Regions from separate parts of the Homo sapiens genome. Here region 2 is linked to region 1. The links are contacts of gene promoters, found by promoter capture Hi-C in blood cells and fetal thymus (Javierre and others, 2016). All regions are on one chromosome and are shown on one strand. The core of a region is centred on a gene start or on the middle of the fragment in contact, and the rest is flanking DNA. Distances in the headings are between cores, read along the strand shown.

Region 1 (7,854 bases), core at 2,000-4,499:
GCCAAACTTGTGCTCTTTGTCCCTGCCTTCAAGAAGGGGCCAACCATCCCCAGTAACATGGACTCACCGATAGGCCACCTTGAGTCTTCCTAAGTGACAAGCATTTATTCCAAAGAACAAGGAGCAGCACCAAGACAAATGAACAAACAAGAGCTCAAGTTTGTGACTTGTTTTCCAGACTGCTCAATTCTCATTAAACATGCAAGCAGTAGTGCTGTGTTCGGCTGTAAGTGACGCTCTGCATATGCCTGGCTAGCTCCTCCACACGCATTTGTGGAGGAGCTAGCCAGGCATATGCGGAGACTTGCCATGTAACCTGCAGCAAGTTACTCACCTCCACCTCCCTATGTTCTTCTGCACTTCCTCAAAGTGAAAGTTCATTTATTAGGTAAGGAACAAGAATTGAATCCAAGTTTGCATTCACTGTGCCAGGCATTTAAAGCTGCCACTCACATGTTGTGGAATGAACTGTATGGTCTCTTACAGCCATAAAACATCCAAGTCTCTAGGATTATGCTGTTAGGTTCCAAAGAATATAGTGTACAGTAGTCATGAGAAATATCATGACTTTCTGAGATTATACACACATATGCATATATATGTATGTGTGTATATATATCTCTCTCTTCTCATATAGACATAAATCGGTATCAGAAGGTATATACGATACACAGTGTGTGCATATTTATGTATCTATCCCCTTCCTTTATCTACCTCTAAGCTAGGAGAGGCATCAGGCTGAAGAAGTCAAAGTATAACTACTAAAATGAGATAATATAGAAGAGAAAATATTTTTAAAGAATTAAAAATATAAAGCTATATAAATGCAAAAATATAACTAATGCTTAAGAATTATTAGACTAGTTGGCGGAAAAATTTCTTCTGAAGAGGGAGTAGAGTAATGCTATTGTTATTTTAAACCTCACCAAAAAAAAGTGAACTATACATAATCTCCTATACCAAGCAAAACACTGCAAAAGCTACAGGTGACCAGAATTATATAACGCCTTTTGAGAATGTACAAGCGTTTTCAGGTACATACATTTCATTAATTTCTAGAATGTTTTTAAGAGTTGCCAGACCAAGGCCCTGAAATTTTCAAATATAAAAATCCTATCTTGGAAGGCGGGGACTCTTACAGAGCTGGGGCCTAGTTTAGAATAGCATTATCTTAGATAAGAGCCCAGCCTCCCTCCAAGCCGTAACAGGAAATGCTTCATAAAGAAGTCTGCATCCTTAGTCCCAGACCTCCGCAGTTAGTATTTGGATTCTAGCCTTTATAAATGGACTTCTCAAAGGTGCATCCAACATCTGAGTATTCTGGCAGCAGTAACGTAAAAGGACTGACAAGGAAGGCTGCAGAGAGGTGTCAGACACGAAAACGCTTGAAGACATAAAAATGAGGAGTCTTAAGCACCTAAGAACTGCAATTCCCTATCTGAGCAGCAGGTAAGATTCTGGGGTATCAGATCACTGTATCCAGTTCCAGGTTCTCCACTGGCAGAGAGTGCAGTCTCTGACTTTGTCCTCTGAATGCAGGAACTTTATCGAAGCTAAAGTACCTGCTTTGGACACTTCTGGCACAGGTGTTGGGGTGACAGGAAACATCATCAATTCAGCTGCCAACTACAGCGGAAAAAAACTAGGGAATAATCCTCAGAAAATGGCACTGTTAATGGGTACAAAAAACACAGATAATAGGAATAAGCTCTAGTGTTCAGTAGCACAATAGCGTGACTATAGTTAACAATAATTTATTGTATATTTCAAAATAACTACAAAAATGAATTTGGAACAAAGAAATAAATGATAAATGTTTCAGGTAATGGATATTCCAATTACCCTGATTTGATCACTACACTGTATGCTTGAATCAAAATATCACGTCTCCTATAAATATGTACAACTATTATGTGCCCATAAAAACTAAAAACAAAAAAGAAAGAAAATGACACTTAAATATTAAAATACCTTTTATCCCCGAATCCCACATTTCAGTTTGGTCTTCTGAAAAAATGACTTATCAGTTTCTCAGCTAAAGAAATGATATCGACAGTGTACTACCTAAATTATACCTTATATTCTTTCCTTTCCAAAATATAAATTCGCCAGTGAACAATCTGATCCTAAAGAGGGCGGAAGATTAACCCGCCTAGCATGAGAGCACAGCTTAAAATAAATGCTGTTAAGTAGTCCTCAGGTAGAACAACTTTCCCAGCCAGCAGGCCCAGGAACTCAAGGTCTAGCTTAAGTTGGGTATTTGTATTCAAGAAGGAATTACAATCATGGAGTCAAATGACTTTTTCAATGCAGACGACAAAACGTAATCAAGTCAGTAGACACTTTACTAAGAGGAGGCTAAGCAAATGGTTATTTGCTTAAGGTTAGGGAACTCTTAAGCCCAAGGACCTGAGAGCCTGGGAAGGCGGGGGGGAATGGGTTTGACTCCCAAAGTTTGCGTTTCCGCAAGTGGTTAACACAACTCTAGGAACAAACCCTAAGACCAATACTCCCCACAATCTCATTTCCCCCCATTCTGCATCACCCATCACCCCAAAATAAAAACAGCTACTACAGCACAGCCCTTTGGTTACGCAGGAGGCTGGGACCTGATCCTGGCATAAAAAGCGGATGCGGGCGACCGAGGACCACACACGTGGGGGCGTTCGCGGGCGCTGAAACCAGCTACGAGGCCCACGCCCCCGCCGGGGACAGCTGGTGACCATCACCTTTGGACAGGGGCATTCCCCAGCCGGCCCCGGAACTTGCGAAAGACGCGCAGCCCTTCGGACTCAGCCACTCGCGCAGGGCCCGGGTCCCGGGCGGCTCGGGGCACCTGAGGAGCGCGGCGAAGGCGGGGACAGGGACGGGGACGGGGACGACTCGGGAACAGGGAAGCGCGCGGCCTCCCGCAGGACCCACCTGGATCTGCAACGGCACGAGGCGCACCTTGCAGCGCTCGCTCACCGCGAAGCCCTTGGGCAAGTCCACGTACTGGCCCCACTCCTCGGCGAACAGCTGCACCACGAATTTGCGGTGCATGTCGATCTGGTCGCCGTACAGGCTGAGGAACTTCTGGATGAGCAGCTCGTAGCCCGCCCCGTGTGGCACCGACGAGGGTCGCGCGAAGACTGAGAAACAGAAGAGCACCGGGACTGTGCCCGACGGCGCCCCCGCGCCCCCGGCGCCGCTGTTGGGGAGCGCAAGGACCGCCGGCTCCGCAGCCGCCATGTTCCCCCGAGCGTCTGCGAGCTCCGAGGCCGCCCAGTCGCACCCAGCCGGCTGCCGCGGCCCCGCCTCCCGGCGATGCCAGCCCGCCCGCCAGCTCGCGGAGGCGAAGGGGCGTGTCCTGACGACCGCTGCTCGCGCGCTCTCTTACCCGCCCCGGAGGGCGGGCCGCGGCGTAAGGGTGGGTGGTGGGGCCGGGGTGCGCGCGTGAGCCAGGGAGCGCCTGCGCTCGCCGGCCGGGTCCGCCCCCTCCAGCTTCCCGGGCCGCTGCGTTCCCGCAGTTCCCCGCTCGCGCCCTTTCTGCCGCGGTTCTGACTGCCGGCAGAACGCCTAGTGGTCTCGCAGACCCAAGACCCGCCTGGGCTGCCCGTTGTTCTTGCCCCGGTGCTGCAGCTCACACAAGGGTTTGTACCACCCTTCCCCTAACGCTGGCCCTCTTCGCGGCTTCGCTCGCCTTCGAATGAGCAGTGTTCTTGGCAGTCTAGGGTTGTGGTTGGGTACACAGAGCCGCCAGGACGAGTTACCTGTTGGCTCTGTGCAGAAGCATGCAGTCCTCCTCGAGATGGCAGTGGTATCTTACAACCAAAGGGACAGTCCGATAGATACCCTAAGAAGAGCAGCAGAATTTAATCCTTAGAGGGCCAGTCAAGGTTCAAGTTTTGTCTTTTTTCGGTCCCACAGAACACAATATCTCTAGGAATGGATTTGATATCTGGCCTCCCTTCATCTCAACCTATTTCTGGGAGGACTTGGATTTGGGAATATAAATACTATTAAAAGCAAAAATCTGAACTTTATATTGAAACTAAGGATATCTGTTTTTAAGTAAGTAAAAGGGATCACTTTCAAATAAAACAATCCTCTGCCTTCTGCACACTGTAAGGCGCTATAATTAACTGGAATTAGAAAGCATGCATTATGAACAGAATTTCCTTGGAATTGAGTCCTGCGAAGATAGGCATGGGCCTAAACATAAAATTAGATTTTAGGTATTAAAGCTGTCCTCTTCTAAGAAAATAACCTTTAAAGCAGGGTTTCCCAACTGACACTGTTGACTTCTGGAATGGACATTTCTCTTTCTTGGGGATGGGGCATCTTGTGCATTTGCAGGATATTTAGCAGCATCACCGGCTTCTACTCCCGCTAGATGCCTAGTGACCGCTCCTCCCTCTAGTTATGGCAATCAAAAATGTTTCCAGACATTGCCAAATATTCCCCAGAGGGCAAATATACCCCCTACTTGAGAACCACACTGCTTTAAAGTTATGAAAAGACCATCCTTTGGTGTTTCTTGCTCAATTGTACCGAAGCTACTAGAAATAGCCATTTTTTTCTGGTTCTCATCACACTTTGAGAGATCCCATTTAAAAGTGTTGTCTGAACCCGTCAGACCCAAAATGATATTTTTTTCCGGATACCACTCCATTGCAAGGTCTTCTATATGCAGATATGCTGATTTGTGCTAATAAGTGTACCCCCTCAAGACCTGATTACCAAAAGGTACCTACCTATTTTGGGTGGACTAATAAAAGTGTTCCTTCCACCCTGTAAAGCCTCCTAACACAGAGTAGGTTGGAGATTAGAGATTGGCCTAGACTTCAGACATCCTCAGCGAGGACCTTGGCATCTACACAGTCTTCTGCCGTGGCCCTCATGGCCGTGAGTCAACATACTTCATTTCCCTTTCATGTTTTTAAATTAGGTTTCTGACCCTTCAGTAAGGAAATCAACTTCCATATATATTGTGCTGTCTGAGATTGGTCCTTGACAACCTAGTTTAATGGTGCAATCATTGTGGTAATAGCATGTTAAATAACATTAATAAAATAGATATTTGATGGGCACATTTACCATTTATTGAATATCAACTGTGTATCAACCTCTGCATCACTGGGCTGCAAAAGGGAGGTGAATGCACATTTCAGTGATAAATTATTATCCTCAGAAATACAATTATTAAGATAATTTTTATAAATGTTACCAGAAAAAGTGAGTAAGACCCCATAAATGAATATTCAAATGACAAGTAGAAAATAACTGTTCTAATTGACAAGATCATATTATGGACCAAATGCCCAAAATTTTCTCATATAGGACTCTCAGTAGCTTTATTAGTTAATGTTAAATGCTTACTTTTAGAATCTAAATTCCAAGAAAATCAAGAAGGTATATTACACAGTATTGATTAATACATTAATATGCTACAGAAACAAACCCCAAAATCTCAATAGACTGATAAAACAAAGGCTTATTTCTCACCTTTCCCAGTTAACAGCAACATTTGACAAACCAATTACTCCCTTTATTTTGAACCATATTCACTTTGTCTTTGGGATACCACTCTCTCTTATTTCTCCTTCCACCTCACTTCAAGCTCGTTTCCTATGTTCCTCTCATTCCCCAAACCTCTATAAATACAAGTATACCAGAGCTCAGTCCTCACATCTATTATCCTAAGACTGTGGCTTTAAATATCACCCATATACCTTTGACTTCCAAATTTTTAACATCCAGGCCCTCACTCTGCACTCCATACTCATACACAAGTGCCTATTCGACATCTCCACTTGGATATTCAATAGATACCTCACATTTAAATGTACTAACAGAACTCTTAGTTTTCTTCTGTCCTCGAATATTTTCTCTCCCCTGTTGATATCTAGGCAAATGGCAACCCCGTTTTAGTAACTGAGTACAATAACCAGGGGTTTATCCTTTAATTTACTCCTCTTTCTGTCCTTGTCCAGTCTATCAGCAAGACCTGGTGGTCAGAACCAAATTCCTCTCATTCACACCAGTGCCACCACCTAAGACAAAACCACTGTCGTCTTCCATCTAACTGTAACTCATCATAAGTTGTGCCCAATATTTGACTTTTGTATCCCTATTTATCCATTTACCTCATTTACATAGACTTTTATACTCCATTTACCACACGGCTATTAGAGTGGCACTTTTTCAAAAACATAAATTTAGAGCGTGTCACTGCTGTGTTCAGAATCCTCCAGTATATAAAAATAGACCTCAAGACAATCTAGATGTTAGGATTAAGAGAAAAAGAACTTTAAAGAAGTTGTTACAAGTATATTCAAGGTCTTAAAAGAAAGGGTAGCCATAAGACTGAGCAGATAGGGAATACCAGCAGGGAGATGGAGATGACTGAAAACATAGCCAAATGTCACTTTTCAAGCTAAAAGTGCAATGTCTGGAGTGAAATGCTCACTGGGTAATCTAAACTTCAGATTATAGGTTCCAGAAGAAATGATTAGTGAAATTGCATGCAGAGTACTAGAAATTATCCAATGTGAAGAACAGGAAGAGATTGAAAAAAGTATGATGACAGTTTTAGTAACCTGGAGGGCAATATCAAATGATCTAATATGTAGTTGGAGTCCAAGAGGGAGAGATGAGACAAGAATGGAACAGAAAGAATATTGGAAGAAATAATAGCCAAAATAGCACTGTCTATTAAGTCTTCAGTGTGCTGATTTTTATCTCAGAGTCTGCTTTCCAGGGAAATCAACCTGTGACATTTGTTGCTAGGAAAGATGAAAGGAGGCCAATGTGGATGGATTTTGGAGCTGGGTCACCCACTGTTGGGCAGATAATGAATACCTAACCACTAATATCTGTGGAGCACAGATAGCCCCTGGCAGTTTTTTTAAACTTCCAGCAAGATGAACTAGAATCATATACTACTGGAAAGGAATGCCTTCACTGTAATTAAGAATTTGAAAAATATGGAGGAAATACTAATTATAAGAATAAAGGAATTGAATGACAGTTTCAAAGTTTGATTGATGCTCTAGAAAAAGACCAAAAAAAAGATAGTTGGCAACTAAAAGCTAAGTGTGAAGGCTGGAAGAACTTTTTGGCAGCATTGAGTCTCTCAGTTCCTGCAATAAGAAGAGAGAGAAAGCTGAGGACCAAGACTAGGACTGAAGGTAGCAGAGCTCCAAAGAAGGTTAAACTCTTAAAAAATGCATATTTTCTATGCCAAGGTCAGGACTCTGGTTGAGAAATGGGACCGTGACACATGGGATAAAGTTGATGACACTGAAAATTATGAGTCCTTCGATTCTTTTAATTGATCTGGTCTTTAGAAATGACTTACTCTTTTCTTAATGACTAGCATTCCCTCATTTCTTGAAGGCAATGCAAAGCCTTTTCTCTAGCAAGACATTAGCTTTCCCAGGCTCTTCCCTCTCCTTCCCTCCTGATACCTATATCCATAAGTAGGCTTAATTAACAGTAAAATCTGGCCACAGATATGTTGGGCCTGAAAAAGAAGGAATATATCCAAGAGCAGCTACAGAATCTAATAACCAGCATATACCATCAGGAGCAGAGAGATTATGCACAGCACTGGATTTGGAGGGTGTGTGATCGAGGATGTGGAACAAAAAAGTTTCTCGGTTAGGAAACACCATATTAGGATAGAGGATTTAACACCCTAGTAAGGTTCTTGGGAGATGGTCTGAACACAGTGCTTCTAAGGCTGCTCTTAAATGGGCCATAAATTTACAACCTTACCCCAAGGCTATGTTAACTGTCCTGCCGTCTATTACAATATACTCTGAAGAGATATAAGTTAGCTGGACATCCTGCAGAATATCACCTTCATTC
Region 2 (7,854 bases), core at 1,168-3,667, 1.0 Mb after region 1:
AGTAATAACCAGAGGAGGCCAGAAAAATGAGGTGGTCCTTTAAGCAGTGCAGTTTTCTACTAGGGAATTGCTGCATTAGTAGTTGATCCGTGCAGTACCTTTCAGCTCCACAACGAATTCTGCCACTATTGGAATTCAACATTCATTTAGTTGAATAAATACTGAACAGGTACTATGAGCTACTCTGTATTTACGGGATATAGCAGTGAGCAAAACGGACAATCCCATCTCTCATGGAGTTCTTTCTAGTGAGAAAGAGAAACAATAGACAAGATAAATAGGTAAAATACATAGCATCCAAGCAGTGAGTACTAAGGAAAGGGAAATGGGATATTTGTGTGAAATGAGGATCATAAAATTTTCCATAGGATGGCCTCACTGAGAAGGTGATATTTGAGTAAGGAAGTGAGTGATATGAGTTCTTGGGAAAAAAAGTGTCTGAAGCAGAGGGAAACCAAAGACCCAAAGGCAGGAGCATGCTTAGCATGCTCACGGAATTGCATGTAAGCCAGTTTGGCTGGAACTTGCTTAAGAGATGTGAAGAATCAAAGGCAATTACATCAGAGAGCTTAGGATATGGGATGTAGTAGATCAGAATGTTTAGGACCTTTTTTGGCTGTTAGACATACTTGACTTTTTTAGTAGAATAGTGTGTTAGTCAGCTCAGGCTGCCATAACAAAATACATAGATTGGGTGGCTCAAACAGTAGAAATATATTTTCTCACAGTTCTGCCTGCTGGAAGTCTGAGATCAGAATGCCAGCATGATCATGTTCGGGTTTTCTTTTTGGCTTGCAGACAGTACCTTCTCAATGTCTCCTCAGATGATAAAGAGAGCGTTGTCTCTTTTCTTATAAGGGCACCAGTTCTGTGGAATCAGGGCTTTACCCTGATCACCTCATTTAACCTTAATTATCTCCTTAAAAGGACTGTCTCCAATACAGTCACATAGGAGTGAGGAGAGGATTCGGGCTTCAACATATTAATTTAGCAGGGTACACAACAGTCCTTGGCAGATGGCAGGTTATTGGAAGGTTTCAGTGGAGGAATGACATCTGCCATTTTTAAAGGATTCATCTAGCTGTCTTGTAGGTAGGCAAGGGATAAATGGTTGGGTCAAAGAAGCAAGGAGATGTGTTAAGAGGTATTACAGCAATCCAGGAAGTGATGATAGCGCTTTGACCACAGTGGGTATCAGTGGAAATGGGGAAAAGTAGTTGAATTCTGGGGAAACAATAGAATTTGCTGATGGATGTGAAGTGTGAGAGTCCAAGGGTTTTGACCTCAGCAACTGGAAGAATAGTATTGCTATTTTCTGAGATGGCAAAGGAGGTTAAAGGAACAGGTTTGGGTTGGATGAATATCAGGAGCTTAGTCTGAGATGTCTGTTGGAAGAAACACACAAATGTGTATTAATAATAAATAGTAGTCACTCATATAAATTTGTAACTGCAAACAGAAGTTCTAGGGGATAGGAACGTAGTATAAGGAAAATGCAAAATAGGCCAGACTTAGTCAAGACAGAAGTGACTTTTTAGCAAAGGTCTAAAGGAAAATTAGGACCAAATTGTCACTAGAGGGTTTCCAACAAGGGAAATATTGTGGACAAATGCCCTCATGGAGTGAGCAGGGACTATCAAAGAAGCAAGAAGCTTGAAATCAGTTTGGTTAAAGCATAGGGAAGGATTGGGGGCAAAAGTAGTAAGAGATGTGTCTGTATTCTAAAAGCCCTATAAAAGCATTAATGGGTTTCTGGATAGATTGAGGGGCACATAATCAGATTTGTGCTTATTAAAACTCTCTAGGCCTGGCAAGGTGGCTCACACCTGTAATCCCAGCACTTGGGAGGCCAAGGCGGGTATATGGCTTGAGCTCAGGAATTCGAGACCAGCCTGGACAACAATAATGAAACCCCATCTCTACCAAAAAAACCCACAAAAATTCAAAAATTAGTGGGGCGTGGTGGCACGCACCTGTATTCCCAGCTCCCTGGGAGGCTGAGGTGGGAGGATCACTTGAGGTGGGGGTTGTAGTGAGCTATGATTGTGCCACAGCACCCAGCCTGGGCGACAGAGTGAGACACTGTCTCAAAAAATAAATAAATAAAAATAAAACTAGTTATATTATGAGCAGAAGAGTGGAGAAGAGGAAGAATAAGCATGGAAAGTCAGGACACAATTTCACTAATCTAGCTGTGAGTTGATAGTAGTAATAGTAGTTAGCCTTTATAGAGAATTTAGGTCCTGGATACTGTGCCAAAATCTATACATTCATAATCTTACTGAATTCTCGCAACACTATGAAGAAAATCATAAGATTACATCCATTTTACAGATGAAAAACTTGGTTAAGGAAAAAATAAGTAATTCCAACATTAATGAGCACATAAAAGACCTACAAAGGTCAGGAGGTGAGAAGAAAATCAGATGAAGGCATTTGAAAACAGGATCAGCTGTGTTAAATTGGGCCAAGAGGCAGAGAAAAATGAGTTGAATATATATTGACTTTAGTAACATGTATTAGCCAACAAAATGAGAGAGCAATGCAGTGAGGGGAGGGCCACAAACATTCCAGGAAATATCAAAGTGTATTATGTGAAACTTATGAAAAATTTATCAGGAGAGATCTCCTTTACTTAATTGTTGGCAAATATTTCATTGTCAGACTTACCAGGTGTCAGTTTAGAGACTAACCTTGAGAACAGACTTGCTATCAGTGCCGTGGTGGGAACCTGACTGATTTTGCTGTATTTCCTTTTTGCCACAAGGCCAGCCTTTGACATTGTGTGTGTCTGAGTACTTACTAATATTTATTTCATGTAGTTGGAATTTTAGGATTAGAAGTGACTTGCGTAGTTGTTTTCCAAACTTCTCAATTCACAAATGCCAAAGTATCCTAAAAGAAGATATAAATTATGTTAGACCTACAACTTCTCATATCTGCAGCATCAGAGCATGTGAAGTGCAAAGCCATGTAGAACCTTTGAAATCAGCTCTCTTTTCCTTTTTTTTCTTACAGTGAGTTTTAGTTAGACATGCTGTGCTGACATTCTGCATGGTTGTGGCTTTGCTGTTTTATTAGATGGCATTCAGAGTACAAATTGAGTAAATGGTATTTCCCTTGAGAAATAATGTGATTATTCTGTTACAGAAAAAAGAAAAAAGTTACCCTAAAGAAGCTTTTTTATAGGCCTAGCACAGTAGCTCATGCCTATAATCCCAGCACTTTGGGAGGCCGAGGCAGGCGGATCAGATGAGGCCAGGAGTTCGAGACCAGCCTGGCCAACATGGGGAAACCCTGTCTCTACTAAAAATACAAAAATTAGTTGGGTGTAGTGGTGCATGTCTGTAATCCCAGCTACTAGGGAGGCTGAGGCATGAGAATTGCTTGAACCCGGGAGGCAGAGGCCTCATTGAGCCGAGACTGCGGCACTATGCTGTAGCCTGTGCGACAGAGTGAGACTCTGTATCCAAAAAAAAAAAAAAAAGAAGAAGCTTGTTTTTTTTTGTAAGAAACAAAGCTTGTTTATGTAAAAAAAAAAACAAAAAACTTGTTATGTAGTAAATGTTATAATTTTGCTTTCTTACCTAAGTCCCGGTCACCTTCTTCTTTAATTAAAAATATTATAAAGATTTTAGTCAGTCATAGAATTAAACATTAATTGAAATTGTACTGTGCTTTTCCTCTAGACAATATATAAATTCATATTTGTAAATTATGTCTTTCAAAAGAGACAGCTCAAGTTTTTTGCTTACCCAGGTAGTAAATTCATGACAAATGCATTTAAAAAACAGTCTTTCTTTCTTATCCCTACTTTTGTCTACACATGTTTGTTGTAAAGCTATTCAAAGAAATCTTTTCCAATTTAAAATCTGTATTAGAAAAGTTATTTGTGATTACTTTTGTACTTCTAACTATACAGGCTGTGGATATTTGCAAACTTCAAAGTTCAAAATTGTTATCAAATATTAATATTTGAAGGAATTACTTGTATATAATAGCTTAGTGATTACACACATGGACTCCAGCACCAGACTGCCTGGATTTGAATCTCAGCTCCATCAGCTCCGCTATTTGTTGTGTGATCTTGGCTTAGTGTGACCTCTGTGCCTCAGTTTCCTAATCTATAAAATGGGGTATAACAATGGTAGCTTTTTTTTTTTTTAGACAGAGTCTCGCTCTGTCACCCAGTCTGGAGTGCAGTGGTAAGATCACAGCTCACTGCAGCCTTGATCTCCCAGGCTCAAGTGATCCTCCCACCTCAGCCTCCTGAGTAGCTGGGACCACAGGTGCAGGCCACCATCCCCGGCTAATTTTTTTGTTTTTTGTAGAAACAGGGTATGGCCATGTTGCCTAAGCTGGTCTTGAACTCCTGGACTTAAGCAGTCTGCTTTCCAAAGTGCTAGGATTACAGGCATGAGCCACCACACCCTCATACTTGTGGAGCTATGAGGATTACATAAAGTACTATTCGTAAAATACTTAGAATAGTGCCTGATAATATGGTAAGGCCTAATGTATGTAAACAGTAAATAAATGCTTAAAACTTAATATTTTATTCAAAAAACAAACAGGGCTAAGATACAACCTTTAGGTCATATCTTTTCTTGCAAGTATGTCCTGTTTTATTTTTTACTTTGCTTTTTGTTTTGATTTTGAGAGGTATTTAGGTAATTTTTTGAGTAGCATGTAAGCTATTTTTTTTTTCTGTTACAGATTTTTAGGGCAGTTTTTAGTGTCATTATGTTGCTGCTACATATTTGGAAGATGGAACAAGCCCAGACAAAGGAGGATTCTTTTTTACTCATCTTAAATCCATTTTATTTTCCTTCATCTGAGCCCCTTAAAACTAATGTGTTACTGGTAAGTTGGTGTGTGCCTGTAGTCCCAGCTACTAGGGAGGCTAAGCCAGGAGTATCGCTTCAGCCCCAGAGTTCAAGACCAGCCTGGACAACATAGCAAGACTCCCGTCTTAGAAAAAAATCTGTACAGATATGTTATAGGAACATTTTGTCTGCATTCACTACATTGCACTATACTTTAAAAAAAAAGAGATTTAAAATACAAATACTGACACTTAACACACATGTACTCATATCTTAATAATTAGTTTAATTGCTTCCCCTTTATGGAGTCAAATAATATAATGCGTTTCCTAACTAACTGTATACTTATATTTTCCTCAATGTTAATGAAAAATCTCTAATATTTTTATCCTCTTATATTTCTTAATTATTAATCTATTTTCACTTTTAAAAAGCCATAAAAATAAGATATGTTTTTATAATTATTCTAGATGCCTGAAATTTTGTAAAAATCATAAATATGGAAAAGATCTTAAAGGGTTATGTAATAAGCCCCTACTTTGCACAATATTCTACCTCTGACACTTTTAAGAAAATAATTTCTAGTAACACATCCTAGTGGTTACAAGTCCTTATGCCATAGCATTGGACATTAATAATCACTCAAATACTTATTGAGGAATAAGATGTTCTTCCTAATGACTAAATTAAATTATTCTCATTATAATTCAATTCTTTGGCTTCTTGTCCCATTCTTCAGAGGTTATGGTAACCCGTAAAAGTGTAAGGTTATTTTCAGTTTTATTTTCTAAATGATTTCCTCTTGCATGTCATTATAGGACCAAATTTCTAAGTATGTAATTATTTTTATTACTGTCCTCTGGGCCCTTTCCAAGTAATTTAATCTTCCTTTAAATGTGGGCCAAAACTATTAGGTTCAATATGGCAGTTTTTAAAAACATGAGTATGAAGGTAAAGGCAGGTTATTACGGTTCATGTAATTGTTTTCATTTAAAACTGAAGTACCAGCTGACTTTGAATATGGCCCTGAGTATCAGCTCTTCTGATTAGTCAAGAAATGTTTCTTGTTTTTTAAGAGATTTGAACTAAAATTCCACCTCAATTGTAACCAATTTTTTTTTTTTTTTTTTTTTTTTTTGAGACTGAGTTTCTCTCTGTTGTCCAGGCTGGAGTGCAGTGGCATGATCTCGGCTCACTGCAACCTCTGCCTCCCGGGTTCAAGTGATTCTCCTGCCTCAATCTCCCAAGTAGCTGGGATTACAGGTGCTCACGAACAGGCCTGGTTAATTTTTGTATTTTTAGTAGAGATGGAGTTTTACCATGTTGGCCAGGCTGGTCTCGAACTCCTGACTTCAAGTGATCTGCCGGCCTTGACCTCCCAAAGTGCTGGGATTACAGGCTGAGACACCCACCATGCCTGGTTGAATTGTAACCAATTTCTAGAGACATAAAATTCTTAATATATATTATATAATATAGATAGATATTATTGATATATATTCCATATTATATAATTCTTGATATAATATATAATTCTTGATATATAATAGGATATATATCAAGAATTTAATATCTATAAGTCAAGTAGATATTTATTATTTATAACATCTTTCTATTTATAAAGTAATAATTAATATAGAAGTCATAGGAAAAAAGCAAAAGGAAGTAACACTTATAATGCCATCACCCTGAAATAACATTTTCCTGTTTATGGTATTACAAAATGATTTATGGTATGTTTTATAGTTTTTAAAACCAGTAATGTGAACATTTCTCTATATATGAAAATGGATATCTTGCAATTGCATGATTTCTAATGGCTTCATAATATTGCATCATGTAGATTTATCATAATTTACTGACTCTATCACCTATTTTTGAACCCTGTTTATTTCATTTTTAAATAAGAGCAAGCAGTGCTACATTGGATGTCTTTGTGCATATATCTTTCTTAATTGAGTATTTCCTTAGGATAAATTCTTAGAAGTGAAATAGCAGGGTATGTATATTTTTAAAACTTTTGGCATACATATCAAAATTGATTTTCAGAAAGGTTATTATCAATTTATCCTTCTGTCAACATTGTGTTTGAATTTCTGCCTTCCACCACCCTTATAAAGTCAGAGTAAAATCTTTCTTAATCTTTGTCAATCTGATTAGCAAAAAAAAAAAACAACAAAAGTTTAATTTGCAGATCATTGACTTCTAGTGAGGTTATAGTTTTTAAAGTTTCTTAATCATTTATATATTTTTATTTCTGAATTGCCCATTGATATCTATAGAAGACCATTACTGTATCCTAGAAGTGGGGTTTCCATTCTCTCTTGTTGTGGTAATAGCATACACATTTTTCTTGTTGTTTTTGTTTGGGTTTTGTTTTGTTTCTTTGGTGAGGTGGGGGTAATTCTTTTACTGGAATTACCTCTCTGTGTGTAGTTTTGGAAGGACATAATAGAGGAGCTTGCCTGCCCCAGCCAAATTGTGAGCATATGACCAAATGTGCCAATCTGGCTCTCATAAGTGTTTTGAATTTTGGGTGGTGTGATGCAAAGTCAGAAAAGTAAGTCCAGTTGTGGGACTCTTAGTTGCTTATATCTCACTTCCTCCCTCCCTGGGCAACTGCCTTGCCTGAGGGCAACCCAAGGCCACTGACTAGCTGATGGTCAATATAAAGGGCATTGACTGTATTTGGGACAATCTAAAGAGCCACTACCTCAAAGAACACCCTGTAGGATGGACTGAGGCTTCAGCTGCATCCTCACTGTGAGTCTGCTGCTTCCTCTGCCCAATCCTGCCTTCCTCATTTCCTTATAGTTGTGTCTCCTGAGTATACTCTCAATCAAACTTCCTCTATGCCATTTCTCTATGCTTTCTCTATGCCATCTCTATGCCACCTCAGTCTGTTTCTAAGGAACTGTCCATTCCAGTGGCAGTACTCAGGGAAGACAGTATGGTAGTTCCTGCCAGCAGCACCCTCTGGAACTACTTCCGTTGTCCTTTCTGCATCTGTTTCTTCTTTCATTTAACT

What was found. The method cuts DNA at HindIII sites, captures the fragments that hold promoters and counts their contacts. A CHiCAGO score of 5 or more calls a contact.
Region 2: a contact is called between a fragment that was not itself captured here and the fragment with the promoter of ISOC1 in region 1, in 1 of 17 cell types (total CD4 T cells). The highest score is 5.2, in total CD4 T cells.

What each region holds. Positions count from the first base shown.
Region 1 is chr5:129,090,144-129,097,997 of GRCh38, reverse strand. ISOC1 (isochorismatase domain containing 1) reads right to left here and starts at 3,249. Exons shown (of 5, transcript NM_016048.2): 1 at 2,923-3,249. The coding sequence starts at 3,231. LOC124901060 (a long non-coding RNA gene) reads left to right here and starts at 1,219. Exons shown (of 2, transcript XR_007058926.1): 1 at 1,219-1,449; 2 at 2,599-5,072. It overlaps MIR4633 (microRNA 4633), which reads right to left and starts at 310; the gene lies at 232-310. RefSeq lists a silencer at 2,852-3,631. The HindIII fragment of the contact is 22,217 bases long and covers 1-7,854 here.
Region 2 is chr5:128,073,956-128,081,809 of GRCh38, reverse strand. The region is part of intron 1 of SLC12A2-DT (SLC12A2 divergent transcript); the gene reads left to right. Among named protein-coding and RNA genes, the nearest start is that of SLC12A2-DT, 5.3 kb to the left of the region's middle. The HindIII fragment of the contact is 1,526 bases long and covers 1,655-3,180 here.